Linked DNA regions of Homo sapiens: regions 1 and 3 are each linked to region 2. The links are contacts of gene promoters, found by promoter capture Hi-C in blood cells and fetal thymus (Javierre and others, 2016). All regions are on one chromosome and are shown on one strand. Each heading gives the region's core, a stretch centred on a gene start or on the middle of the fragment in contact. The rest is flanking DNA. Distances are from core to core; before and after follow the strand shown. Region 1 overlaps BASP1-AS1 (BASP1 antisense RNA 1). Region 2 holds the start of RETREG1 (reticulophagy regulator 1). Region 3 overlaps BASP1-AS1 (BASP1 antisense RNA 1).

What was found. The method cuts DNA at HindIII sites, captures the fragments that hold promoters and counts their contacts. A CHiCAGO score of 5 or more calls a contact.
Region 1: a fragment that was not itself captured here is called in contact with the fragment with the promoter of RETREG1 in region 2 in 2 of 17 cell types (monocytes and M1 macrophages); the score reaches 6.1 in monocytes.
Region 3: a fragment that was not itself captured here is called in contact with the fragment with the promoter of RETREG1 in region 2 in 1 of 17 cell types (endothelial precursors); the score reaches 6.5 in endothelial precursors.

The regions. Positions count from the first base shown.
Region 1 is chr5:17,186,071-17,190,307 of GRCh38, forward strand. All of the region lies in intron 1 of BASP1-AS1 (BASP1 antisense RNA 1), which reads right to left. Among named protein-coding and RNA genes, the nearest start is that of BASP1-AS1, 29 kb to the right of the region's middle. RefSeq lists a silencer at 4,210-4,237. The HindIII fragment of the contact is 3,942 bases long and covers 213-4,154 here.
Region 2 is chr5:16,615,309-16,619,394 of GRCh38, forward strand. RETREG1 (reticulophagy regulator 1) reads right to left here and starts at 1,689. Exons shown (of 9, transcript NM_001034850.3): 1 at 1,344-1,689. The coding sequence starts at 1,663. It overlaps RETREG1-AS1 (RETREG1 antisense RNA 1), which reads left to right and starts at 618. Exons shown (of 4, transcript NR_109946.1): 1 at 618-1,178. RefSeq lists a silencer at 1,443-1,932. The HindIII fragment of the contact is 3,701 bases long and covers 996-4,086 here.
Region 3 is chr5:17,204,939-17,208,958 of GRCh38, forward strand. All of the region lies in intron 1 of BASP1-AS1 (BASP1 antisense RNA 1), which reads right to left. Among named protein-coding and RNA genes, the nearest start is that of BASP1-AS1, 10 kb to the right of the region's middle. The HindIII fragment of the contact is 3,966 bases long and covers 58-4,020 here.

The sequences.
Region 1 (4,237 bases), core at 934-3,433, 570 kb after region 2:
TTACCTGAGAACCAAAAATATAGTTTTAGGTTCTTCCACGTTACAGTTCCTACATGTCTTGCTGCTTGTGGGGAACTCCTTGCCTGGCTTCTTCAAATAAGCAGAATGTACAACCATGCTTAGAGCAGGCTGCTCTCTATTTCAGATTTTCCAGGGGAAAAGAGGAATGTACATTAGGCAGATTATTTTACCTCCCTAGTCATGCCAGGGTAAGCTTCCTAGACCAACTAATTCTCCTTCAAGGTCTGGCAGCTCCCAGCTCCCAGCTGCCAGGGGGCCAGGCAGAGCTCCTTCCTCCTCCACTATCTGTGGCCCCAAAGATTCCCCTTCCACCAGGGCCGGCGACCAACTGACCACAGGCTGAGTGCTCCAGGCCCTGGCAGCTCAGAGGACGGGGAAACAGCAGCACACTTGCGGCCCCCTGGAGTCTGTCCCATCTGCCCTACCATCCTGTCATCTCCAAGGATCACCCAAGCTCTGGCCAGGCTGGTAATCTGTCTCCTTTGCATGCCCTTGCTCCCTGCTGCTCTGTGGGGCTTTCCCATGGACTCCTGACTCCTCTTTTACTCTCATGGCAACCCTTTCCATTGGGCTGTCTGGGATTCCTGTTCTTCAGTGGATACTTCCTTCTGTGTCCTCAGTCTCAGAGAATGCGCACCCTAGCTGAAGTTCTGCTCTCTCCAGAGTATCCCGGCTTCCCCCTTTTCACATTTCATCTACTGGGTTGGGGACCCATTTACGCCAATACTCCATGATCACTTGCAATCTATGACTCTTCCTCCTTTTGGAAAATACCCCTGCTCTGTAGAGTCCTTGATATTTAAGATGTGTGTGTGTGTATGTGTGTGTGTGCACGTGTGCGTGCACGTGTGCTCGTGTGTGTGCGCATATATAGCGTTAAGTGCTCCGGCTTCAATATCCAATGATGTGGGTTCTAATTTCGGTTTTGTACTCACTAGTCTGTGAGACTTTGGTCAAGTTACTTTTTTGAAGGCTTGTTAACTCTTCTATAAAATGTGGACGGCAGTACTTCTATAGCATGGGGTTGTTGTGAGGATTACATGAGAAGATCCATATGAAGTGTCTAGCACATTTCTGGTGTAACTCAGTCGACGTTAACTATGATCACATTTGGGCTGCTCACTTGCCTTTTCAAATCCCCCACCATTTGAAAAATGTCAGTGTTCTTTGGCACCACACAACCTGCTCCTGACAGTTCCCAGCTTCCTTAACTCTGGGGCATGCATTTCTACCACAGGCCTGCCCCACTTTCTGGCAACAACCTCCTAATCTATCTGCTCCTTCTCCCTGCCTGGGTCACCTCCTTCCTGTCTACCATGTCCTTGTCTCCCCGTAGCACTAGCCTAGGACCCTCCAACCTCAGCCAGATAGTCTACTTTCACTGAGACCTACACAGTTTGTGGTGTGTACCTGACTCATCTTGTGTGACTGTCATGTTTATTCTGTGGTTATATTTTTCATAATTCTTCCATTATAAGGATCCATATGGGGCTGAACCACTTCCTATACCCCACCCGCATTCCCACAAGCTGGATCGCATGTGAAGAATCTGATAATCTCTCTCTCATCTGGAGATTTGGTCTTAGTTCAGTAATGCCCCTGATCCAGGGAGTTAGTTGTCTAGGACACAGACTTGGCAGGGAGGTGAGGTGGCACTTTTCAGTGGCCATGACTCTGTAGCTGGGAAGCAAGGAAGCCACAGGGTGGTCTTGATCATGTGAACCAAGCCCGTGAGCTTGGAGGAGGGGTGGCACAGGGCCTGTGAGCGGTGGACACGCTCAGCCATGTTTCTGTGCTTCTGAGTTTTAGGCTTGTTAAATTTTCTTGATGTTCTTTGATTTCCCTTTCTCCTTTCTTTAGTAGCTTTGGAAATTCCAGTCTGTTTCACTTCTGCTGAAACACAGCAAGGATAAGGGAATTTTCCCTGGTGTGGCTCCATCTTTAAGATGACACTTAACTTTGGGAGGCAGAATGCCAGGGGCAGAGGGAGTCCGACCGAGGGCTCTCTATGGTGATCCCCCACCTGTGGCACACAGAGGATGCCCAAGTCAGCGAGCTGAGACCTTCCTGTCCCAGGGACGTGTAGAGCCAGGGAATTTGGGGGAGAAGATTTGGCTTGGCTTGTGCCTTATCTTTCCCATCATTCTGAGAGGTGAAGTGGCTCTTTCTCAGAATGGAATGGAGAGGAAGGAAGATTCTTGTGGTTACTGGAGAATTAGAACATGACAAGGTACTCGCTCCATTTTGTTTGAGATTTTATGAATTCTCAAAATATCAGAGGCATTTCTATCAAAAAAAAGAGAAAGGTCCCCAAAAGGCAACTCTTGAGTGACCACCATTTTGGAGGATTTATTCATTCTTGTCTTGTAGGTGGGTAATAAAGAATAAAATATAATTGTATAATACTTTAAAAAGACTATACAGGCAGTTGGGAGTCCGTCCACCAGGCTCTGCTCACTCGCTGAAAGGCAACGTGATTTACTATAAGATGCTTAACTTTGCTGTATATTTCCTGAGGTTTAAAATAAGATCTGTACTTATCTTTTCCTTTAAACTGACATGAATAAGGGAACATTTATGTCAAATAATTTGAGCAACTCAAAGGAGCAAAGTGCTTTAAAAATGCCAACTGGACTGTGAAGTTTTTAGGTATTTGAGGAGATCTACAAAATGGACTGGAAAAAATGGGCATGTCTCCAGAAATCACCAACAGCTGTGCGTTTAAAGATAACTAAAAATAATATTTCATATTGAGAAATTGGAATATCGGGGTTGAGTAGACCGGAAAATAGGGAAGAAAAGGAGAAGACACAGAAAAAAAAAGCCTTAAAACTTCGTGCTTCAGCAGTTGAACCTCTCTTGATTATCATTCCCAGAATTCCATTCTACTTTTTCCATTTTTTTTTTTTTTTTGAGATGGAGTTTTGCTCTGTTGTGCAGGCTGGAGTGCAGTGGCACGATCTTGGCTCACTGCCACCTCCGTCTCCTGGGTTCAAGTGATTCTCCTGTCTCAGGCTCTGAGTAGCTGGGATTACAGGCGCCCGCCACCACACCCAGCTAATTTCTGTATTTTTAGTAGAGACGGGGTTTTGCCATGTTGCCCAGGCTGGTCTCGAACTCCTGACCTCAGGTGATCCACCCACCTTGGCCTTCCAAAGTGCTGGGATTACAGGCGTGAACCTCCGTGCCCGGCCTACTTTTTCCAGATTTGGTCATGAGTTTCCTAGGGCTGCCATAATGAAGGACTACAAACTGGGTGACCTAAAACAAGAGATCTATTTTCTCCAATTCTGGAGAACAGGAGTCTGAAATCAAGGTGTGGGCAGGCCTGGTTTCTTCCGGAGCTCCTTCCATCTCTCCCAGCTGCTAACAGTCCTTGGTGTTCCTTGGCTAGTGGACGCATCACCCCCCTCTCTCCCTCTGTCGTCCCACCGCGTTCTGTCTCTGCATCTCAGTGTTCAAATCTCCTCTCCTTATAAAGACAGCAGTCACATTGGATGAGCGCCACCTAGTGGCCGAAGTTTAACTTGAGGACAACTGCAAAGACCCTCCTTCCAATAATGTCACATTGGCATGTAAAGAGGGGTTAGGACTTCAACATATTTTTTCGGAGAAGACATACAATTCAACCCAAAACACTGACCAAAACTTCACTTTCCCTGGGCGACCCCAGCATGGCAAGTTCTCTGCGTGAATAAGGCAGTGGTTGTTTAACAGGCGTGCCAGGAGGCTCAGGGAGCAGGAGCTACAGGGACCTGCATTGTATTCTAAGCGACATGAGGGCGCCTTGCTGTAGTTTCTTTCCTGGGTCTTATCATGCCTCTCCTAGCTCTCAGTTGCTCTTCAGCTTGCAATCCAAGACATGTATTTGTAGTTTAATGAACAAATCATATACTTAAAAAAATGGGTTAGTTTAATCTTAAAAAATCAAAGGCTTTAAAAAAGGGATCACAATGTATGTTTCTAGCCTCTTGCATTCACCTTTACCTTTCCTCCTCCATCTGCTACAGTCACAAGGAGAGCATCCACTTGACCTGTAGTCAGGGAGCACTGCTAAAGGTTGTATCTTCACTCAGCTGCAGTCAGCTTGTGACCGCAGATGCGTTATGAAATTAAATGTCCTCCTATTTTAAAGCTTCTACGAGTCATTAAAATTTTTTTGTTTATGGATATCATCAGGAGTGGTAGGGTGGGAGGAGGATAAGGGAAAGAGAAG
Region 2 (4,086 bases), core at 439-2,938:
AGAATGGCGTGAACCCGGGAGGCAGAGCTTGCAGCGAGCCGAGATCGCGCCACTGCACTCCAGCCTGGGCGACAGAGTGAGACTCCATCTCAAAAAAAAAAAAAAAAGAAAGAAAGAAAGAAAAGAAAAAGAAATAAAATGTTAAAAACATCGTAAACATTAGTGAGACACAGCCCTAAGACTATTAGACTATTGCCCAATCTAGCATAAGACAATATGTCCTTCTTATTTGAGTGCTCGCATTCACTCCATAATAAGATAGATTTGGAATAAACTCTATTCCAAACACAGATACCTAAGAGATCCAAAGTTAATTCACTTTCAGGGACCTCCGACAAGATACAGCTAGTTTTAAGAGAAAACACCAGGACTAGCAGAGATCTGAGGAAAATATTCATCTTGCTCAAGTTAACCTAGAAAATGACAGGCTGTCTATTTTGTGCAATTTATTTATTTCTCAACTTTAAGGTTCAGAAATCTCTGTCCTGTAACAAGGTATCTGTTACCGGAGTCTGATTATTCTGCACTGTGTAGGTCATGTTTGTTATGAGGACACTTAGCAAACAAAGAAGGTTTTTCTCCGCCCTCAATAGCGTGGTAACGGATGACAGGACACCACTTTCAACGAAGGAGACAGACATTTCCCTGGCCTTTCTGAAGAGCGCTTTTTGGAGAGACAAACCTGTTGCTCAGGGGCTGAGCATTCCCGTGTGTTCTCCCTGTACTTCACCTAAAAATATGCCTGTTTTCCACACTGTGCACACCCGGGGGTGGGTGCTGGGCATACTCCACCTGCTTGTTTGCCTCCCGTTTTCTCATCAGGGAGTAAACACAGTAAACCTAACGCTCCAGGGGAAGGAAAAAACAAATCATTCAGGGCCCATCTCAGGTGACTGATGAATGCGGCACCGTTTTGAACGGGTACCTAATCTGGTCCAGATATGCCTGCTGGGGCTGCAAGAACCAAGACACGTTCAAGCACGTTTGCTCCGGCAAGCTTGGGCGAGCAGGTCAAGACCTCAGAGTTTTAGAAAGCAGGGGCGAAGTTTTCAAGCACGATGGGAACACCTGTAGGTGCAGGTGCCTGAGGGTCGGCCGACCACCTCGCATCTGAGGCTGGATCCGCACACGGAGAACGACAACTGCTCACAGGGACGTGCGTCCGGAGGAAAGTTGCGGTGAGTGTCTACCTGTTCGAGACAGGTGGCCGAGAAAGTGGGGCAGGGCTGACAATTCTTCCTCCGCAGTGTCCCGCGGGCTCCCCCTGCACTGGGTCCCCGGGGCCCCGGGCGCCCCAAGGTCACCTGCCCTCCTCAGCGCCCCCACCTTGCCCAAGCTCTCACCAGAACAGCAGGTTGGCAGCGACGAAGCCGAGCAGGCTCCGCAGCGGCCTCTTCCAGCTCAGCAGCTCGTCGGCGCGGCAGCCCAGCCACAGCACCGGCTCCCCGAGCAGCCAGGTTACCGCGGCCGCCGCCCGGCCCGCGGCCTCCTCCACCTGCAACCCCGCGCCCTCCGCCGCCCCAGCTTCCTGCGCTTCCTCCTCCTGCTGCTGCCGCTCTGCGGGGGATGCCTGGGGCGGTGGCGGCGACGGCGGCGCCTGCTCCTCGGCGGCAGGAGCCGGGCATCCCTCCTCGGCGTGCTCCGGAGGCGCCGGGCTCGCCATCTTCAGCTGTGCTTCCAGACAGGGACGGGGCCGGGCGCGCGCGCGGGCGCGCCTGGGTGTGGGTGCCGCCGAGGGCGGGGCGGCGGTGGCGGCAGGTCCCGGAGCGGGGCGCGCACCGCGGGGCACAGGCGGCTGGGGGCCTTGTGACGCCACAGGCCACGGAGGGGGAGCCGCCCGGGAAAGTGGGTGCGGCCGAGTTCGCGCAGGGGCGGGGCCGGGCGCCGGGAGCTGGGCGGTGTCCCCGGGGGGCTCTGGGTTCCTGGAGGGCCTCTCCGGGACTCGAGGAAAACGACCTTTTCCCTTGCAGCGGCGGGAGAGGGCGAAGTGGAGGACTGCTGCTCGGTTCCGTATCCAAAAGAGACCCAAGGCTCCAGGCAAAATAGATTGGACATTTTCACTTTCTCAAGCCAGGGCCACCGGTCGCCCAACCAGCAGCCACTGAGGGTGGTATCGGGGCGCCCCTTCCCCTGGCAGCGTATTTCAGCCCCCAGAGACATCCCCCACCTCGGCCATCCCCAGCGCCTTTGCAGGGACAGCAGCACAACCATAGCAGAGGTCCTGGGCATCCTGGAAATAACGTGCTGGTATAAATGTTGGATTGAGAAAGGAAGAAAAAACATTTGGGGTCAATTTGGGGCCCTCTCGTTTGACACGGGAGGAAACACAAGGCCGCAGCGTTGGGGGAAGCTGCTTCCTTTCTCTCTCTTCTTTCTCTCTGTCTCAGGTGCTTCCTTTCTCTTCTCTGTCTCTCTCTCTCTCTCTGCCTCTCCCTCTCTCTCCCCCGTCTCTCCCCCTATCTTCCCCTCTCTCCTCCTATCTCCCCCTCTCTCCCCCTCCTTGTGGCTAGGTGATCTGGCTCAGAAGTGCACGTTGGCCCGCGCGTGCGGGGAGCTGAGAAGCAAGAGATTGGAACTTTGCACGTGTCAAGCAAGGTTTGGCCTGCTTTGAAGACAGTAATTTCAGAGCCACTCCGGTCTCTGCGTCACAAGCGGGCATCAGGGCAGTGGTGGGGCGGCAGGGGATCCTGAGACCTCCCATGCCCTCTCTTTGGCCCCGGTGCTTCTGGGTGAGTGTGGGGAGAGAGGAAAATAGTTGTTTATGCTTTTCACCATTTGCATTTTTAAATTTTTGTCTTCTTTAATCTTCCTGGTCTTACTTTTACTCTAGAATGACAGGTCCTTCCCCCCCATACTAAGGGTTCTGTCTGCGGATGCATCAGGGCATCTCATATCCCTTTACTGGCAACCAGCCTGCCTGCACAGGATGGAAGGGAGGGCAATTAAATTCCCTGCGTCAAGGGAGTCTCTAGGGGAATGTTCTGTAACGCTCCTCTGGGTGGCCATTGTAAACCTCTGTGTATACACACGTGGAATCCATTGATCTGTACATTCACTGCAGGTGTCTGCACTTTACTGCTTGTATGTTGTACTTCAAAGGAGTTATATTCCCAGAGCCCAGGCAAAGGCTTACTGAGCACCTACCGAGTACACAAAGCATTGCTAAGCTCTGTGGATGCAGCTTCCACCCACAGGAAGCTCCCAGTCTGATGAGGGCCCAGTTACAATTGTGATATCTGCCACAGCGAAGAAGCCTTCGCTAAGTGCTAAGAGATTCCTTACTTAAACTGTGCATCCAAAATTAGGGGAGGAGTGGAGGGATCAGGTTTCAAGAGCGTTTTGTAATAAATGGCCTCTGCCCTAAATTGTAGGGCCCCCATTAGTGTGGGGATTGGGGACAGGGGCAATAACTGCTGTTGGGAATTCAACAGGAGAGGAGGCATGGGGTTGCAGGTGGAGACGCACAGTTCCTTAAGTAACTCACCAAAGGGAATAGTGGACATTGAATGGTCTCTAGTAACAGGAGGCTTGGTTTTTAACTAAAGGTGATACAGAACATCTGGCATTTCCGACTCCCCTTCTTAGGAGTATCCTGACAACCCGATGGAAAGTGGCCTGGGTGTCAAGGAAAAAGCAACGTGGAAACAATTCAGGTTTCTTCCATATAAGAGAGACAATCTTTTCCCAGGTGTGGGTCCTCCCTCTTGGCAGTAGCGGAGAAGTTTTTGAAAGATAAATGATGCTTTTATTGTGTCATTTGGCCTTTGTTTGGCGCTTGATACAGCCCAGGGTTTGCTATTCTAAAATCTGTCACTAGACAGATGTGTGCTGCAGCCAGTGTGGAGAACATGGGGCAGGAGAGAGGAAGAACCAGGTGTCCCCGTTCCCCAGACCAGTGCTGATGTGCTACCAGAAATGGGTTTGCAAGATTAATCACCTTCCTCCTGCTTCCCTTGAATTCTAATTATTGTTGTCAGGATCTGTTGAAGTAGTAAAAGCTGCTGGCAACCAAGACACATAAAAGCTAAGCTCCAGTTGCTGTGTGTGGTTTCCAACACTTATTTATTATCTCTGTTTAATAATAAA
Region 3 (4,020 bases), core at 791-3,290, 590 kb after region 2:
CTGTGTATTTTTGGACATGGTTTCTTTCAGTTCTAAATTTTAAAGAGTGTTTTAAAAAGCTTTTCAAAACATTGTTGTTTCAACTGAATTTAATTTAATTTAATTTTTTTTGAGATGGAATCTCGCTCTGTCACCCAGGCTTCAGTGCAGTGGTGCGATCTCTGCTCACTGCAACTTCTGCCCCTGGATTCCAGTGATTCTCCTGCCTCAGCCTCTCAAGTAGCTGGGACTACAGGTATGCACTACCACGCCTGGCTAATTTTTGTATTTTTAGTACAGACAGGGTATCACCATGTTGATCAGGCTGGTCTCGATCTCCTGACCTCAGGTGATCTGCCCGCCTCGGTCTCCCAAAGTGCTGAGATTACAGGCATGAGCCACTGTGCCCAGCCTCAGTTGAATTTTAGAATTGAACTAGACAAACTTTTGAAGGGTTCTCAACATGTAGTGATATAATAAAAATGAAATTCAGACTCAGAATTATTAAACTGCAGTCTTCAGGAATTAATCTAAGATAACTGAAAATACATCTGCATCTATTCATTTAGCCAGGATTCATCTGCTATCCTATATCATGAGGTAAAAGTATTATATTGTAGAATGTTAAAAAATGTCCCATTCAGAAAAATGTCGTGCACTAAACCTGGCATTTATTCTGCTTCCTATTTCATTTCCTTTTATCTCTATGCCTTTTAGTTGACTGACATTACTTGCTTTCTTCCCCCCATTTTGCTTCTCTACAAGGAGATAATTCCAGATTACATTGGCAGATATTTCAAGCTATATTTCAATTACTAGGATATTGTGAAATTCATGAGATTAAAATAAAATAAACCTCAGAAGGGAGTATAAGCCTCTCCTAATGGAAATTGGGATTAAATTCAAATGTCATCACCTTATGTCATAAATGTTTTGAGTGGATGAAAAAAACAATGAAATGTATTTAAATACATGAAAGAATGTACAGAGTTAACCTTAGTGAAAAGAAAAAATAATGATTTGAGAATGTGGAAATATTCACATGAAATTCTGTATATGACATGTTAAAAAATTAGAGAACTCTTTTTTCTCCATTTATTTGTTGCTCCCAGATAATTTCCTAAGGTAGATAAGATAATACATATTAAAGCAATTTGAGTTATTTGAAAGGAACCTTCAAACTCACATTATTATAGTTTAGGAGTGATTTTAGCAGAAGCAAATTATTAATGATACAGATCAGGAATGGGCAAACTGCTTCCCTTGTGTCAAGAGTGACCTGCTAGGTGTTATGTAAATAAAGTTTTATTGGAACATAGCCATGTCCATTTGTTGACACATTGTCTGTGGCTGCATCCTGATACAGTGGCAGTGGTGGGTAGTGTCAACAGAAATCTCATGGCTTTCAAAGCAAAATATATTCACTATTTGACCCTTTATGAAAAATTTTGCTGACTTCTGCTCTAGATTATCAGCATCTCTATCAGACTCTGTATTTCTGAAGGCATGGACTCTGTGCTTAAACTTAGTTTTCAACTGTTCTTAAAAAAATATGTTGGCCAGGTGCCGTGGCTCATGCCTGTAATCCCAGCACTTTGGGAGCCCAAGGCAGGAGGATCACCTGAGGAGTTTGAGACCAGCCTGGGCAACACAGTGAAACCCCGTCTCTACTAAAATACAAAAAATTAGCTGGGCGTGGTGGCAGACGCCTGTAATCCCAGCTACTCGGGAGGCTGAGGCAGGAGAATTGCTAGAACCCGGGAGGCAGAAGTTGCAGTGAGCCGAGATCCATCACTGCACTCCAGCCTGGGCGACAGAGCAAGACTCCGTCTGAAAAAAAAAAAAAAAAAAGTTAGGGTCGGGCGTGGTGGCAGCTCACACCTGTAATCCCAGCACTTTGGGAGGCCAAGGCGGGTGGATCACCTGAGGTCAGGAGTTTGAGACCAGCCTGGCCAACATGGTGAAACCGTGTCTCTACTAAAAATGATTCCAGTTACTTGGGAGACTGAGGCATGAGACTCGATTGAACCTAGGAGGTGGAGGTTGCAGTGAGACAAGATCGAGCAACTGCACTCCAACCTGGGCAACAGAGAGAGAGACTGCCCAAAAAAAAAAAGTCAGTACTTTTGAGATTATCAGTTAATGACAACATTAAGAAATATAATGACATGGCTGGGCCTGGTGGCTCACACCTGTAATCCCAGCACTTTGGGAAGCTGAGGTGAGTGGATCACCGGAGGTCAAGAGTTTGAGACCAGCCTGGCCAACACAGCGAAACCCCGTCTCTACTAACAATACAAAAAAATCAGCCGGGCGTGGTGGTGGGCGCCTGTAATCCCAGCTGCTCCAGAGGCTGAGGCAGGAGGGTCGCTGAAACCCAGGAGGCGGAGACTGCAGTGAGCCAAGATTGCACCACTGCACTCCAGCCTGGGCAACAGAGTGAGGCTCTGTCCCCCGCCAACCCACCAAAAGAAAAAAAAATATAGTGACAAACACAAGTTTATGCAGTGGGTGGCATTTTTTATACCAGTAGTTACATATGTCCTTTAGGCTAATTCCACTTCCCCACCCTCAGGTGGGGTCTTCAGCATCCCCATCCAAGAAGGAGCTCTGGAGGCTGAGGCAAGAGAATTGCTACAACCTGGGAGGTGGAGGTTGCAGTGAGCTGAGATCACGCCACTGCACTCCAGCCTGGGCTACAGAGCGAGACTCTGTCTCAAAAAAAAAAAAAAAAAAAAAAAAAAAAGTCAGGGTCCGGCGTGGTGGCTCATACCTGTAATCCCAGCACTTTGGGAGGCCAAGGTGGGTGGATCACCTGAGGTCAGGTGCAGGTGTCAGGTCCCTGGTCTTCCGGTTCGGATCTCCTCCCGGTGTTCCCCAGGAGCCACTTAGGGTGCCTCTGTGTGGATCCAGGGGGTTGCTGGGGAACAACTGCCCTCCTCCTGGCCCAGGTTGCCTCTTCCTTTCTCTGTGCTTCCTGCCTCTTGCGCTTCCCCCCAGCAATTTGCAGGCCCTTGAACAGGTTTTTTTAATAGGATTTTTAATTTTATTATTAATGAATTTTTAAAATTGAAAAGTAAAATTATATATATTTATGATGTATACGACATGATGTTTTGATAGATGTATACAGAAAATGTGAAATGACTACATGAAACTATTTAACATAGACATGGCCTCATATAGTGACTACAACTAGTAACAATATATTGCATACTTGAAAATTGCTAAGAGAATAGATTTTAAGTCTTCTCATCCTTCAGAAGATTTGAAATAGCTACTAACAAGACGTGGGGTGTCCATTGTTAGAGTCCCACCGTGCCCTTCCAGGCAGAAATGGTGGCCATAATGCTGTGGTTCATGCCTGTAATTCCAGCACTTTAGGAGGCTGATGGGGGTGGATCACCTGAGGTCAGGGGTTTGTGACCAGTCTGGCCAACATGGCGAAACCCTGTCTCTACTGAAAATACAAAAATTAGCCAGGCATAGTGATGCCTGTAGTCCCAGCTACTTGGGAGGCTGAGGCAGAAGAATTGCTTGAACGCAGGAGGTGGAGGTTGCAGTGAGCCAAGATCGCACCACTGCACTCCAGCCTGGGTGACAGAGAGAGAGAGAGAGAGACTCTGTCTCAAAAAAAAAAAAAAAAAAAAAAAAAAGAAAGAAAGAAAGAAAGAAAGAAAAATGGTGGCCAAATATAAACCAAGGTCTTAAACTCAGAAGCTGGAGGAGGAAGAGGAGGAGGCCCTTAAAATACAAATATTTCTTATTGTTTTTCTGCCAACACAATACTTGAAAAATCAATTTTTGTTCTTCAGTATTTGTTTAAAGTTCAACCCAAAATGTCTGGCATTTAGTGAAAGAAATCTGGGTGGAGGGGGGCAAGAACTCCCTAATATCTGTCCAAAATCCCCCAGGAGACTGGGGTCCCCAGGTTGAAAAGCTCTGCTTGAGACGCAAGAAGGGAGGCAGAATCAGAAACTGAGATGTGTATGTTTTGAAGAGACCTTCCTTCCCCAGTGGAAATCCTGACACGGACCAAGG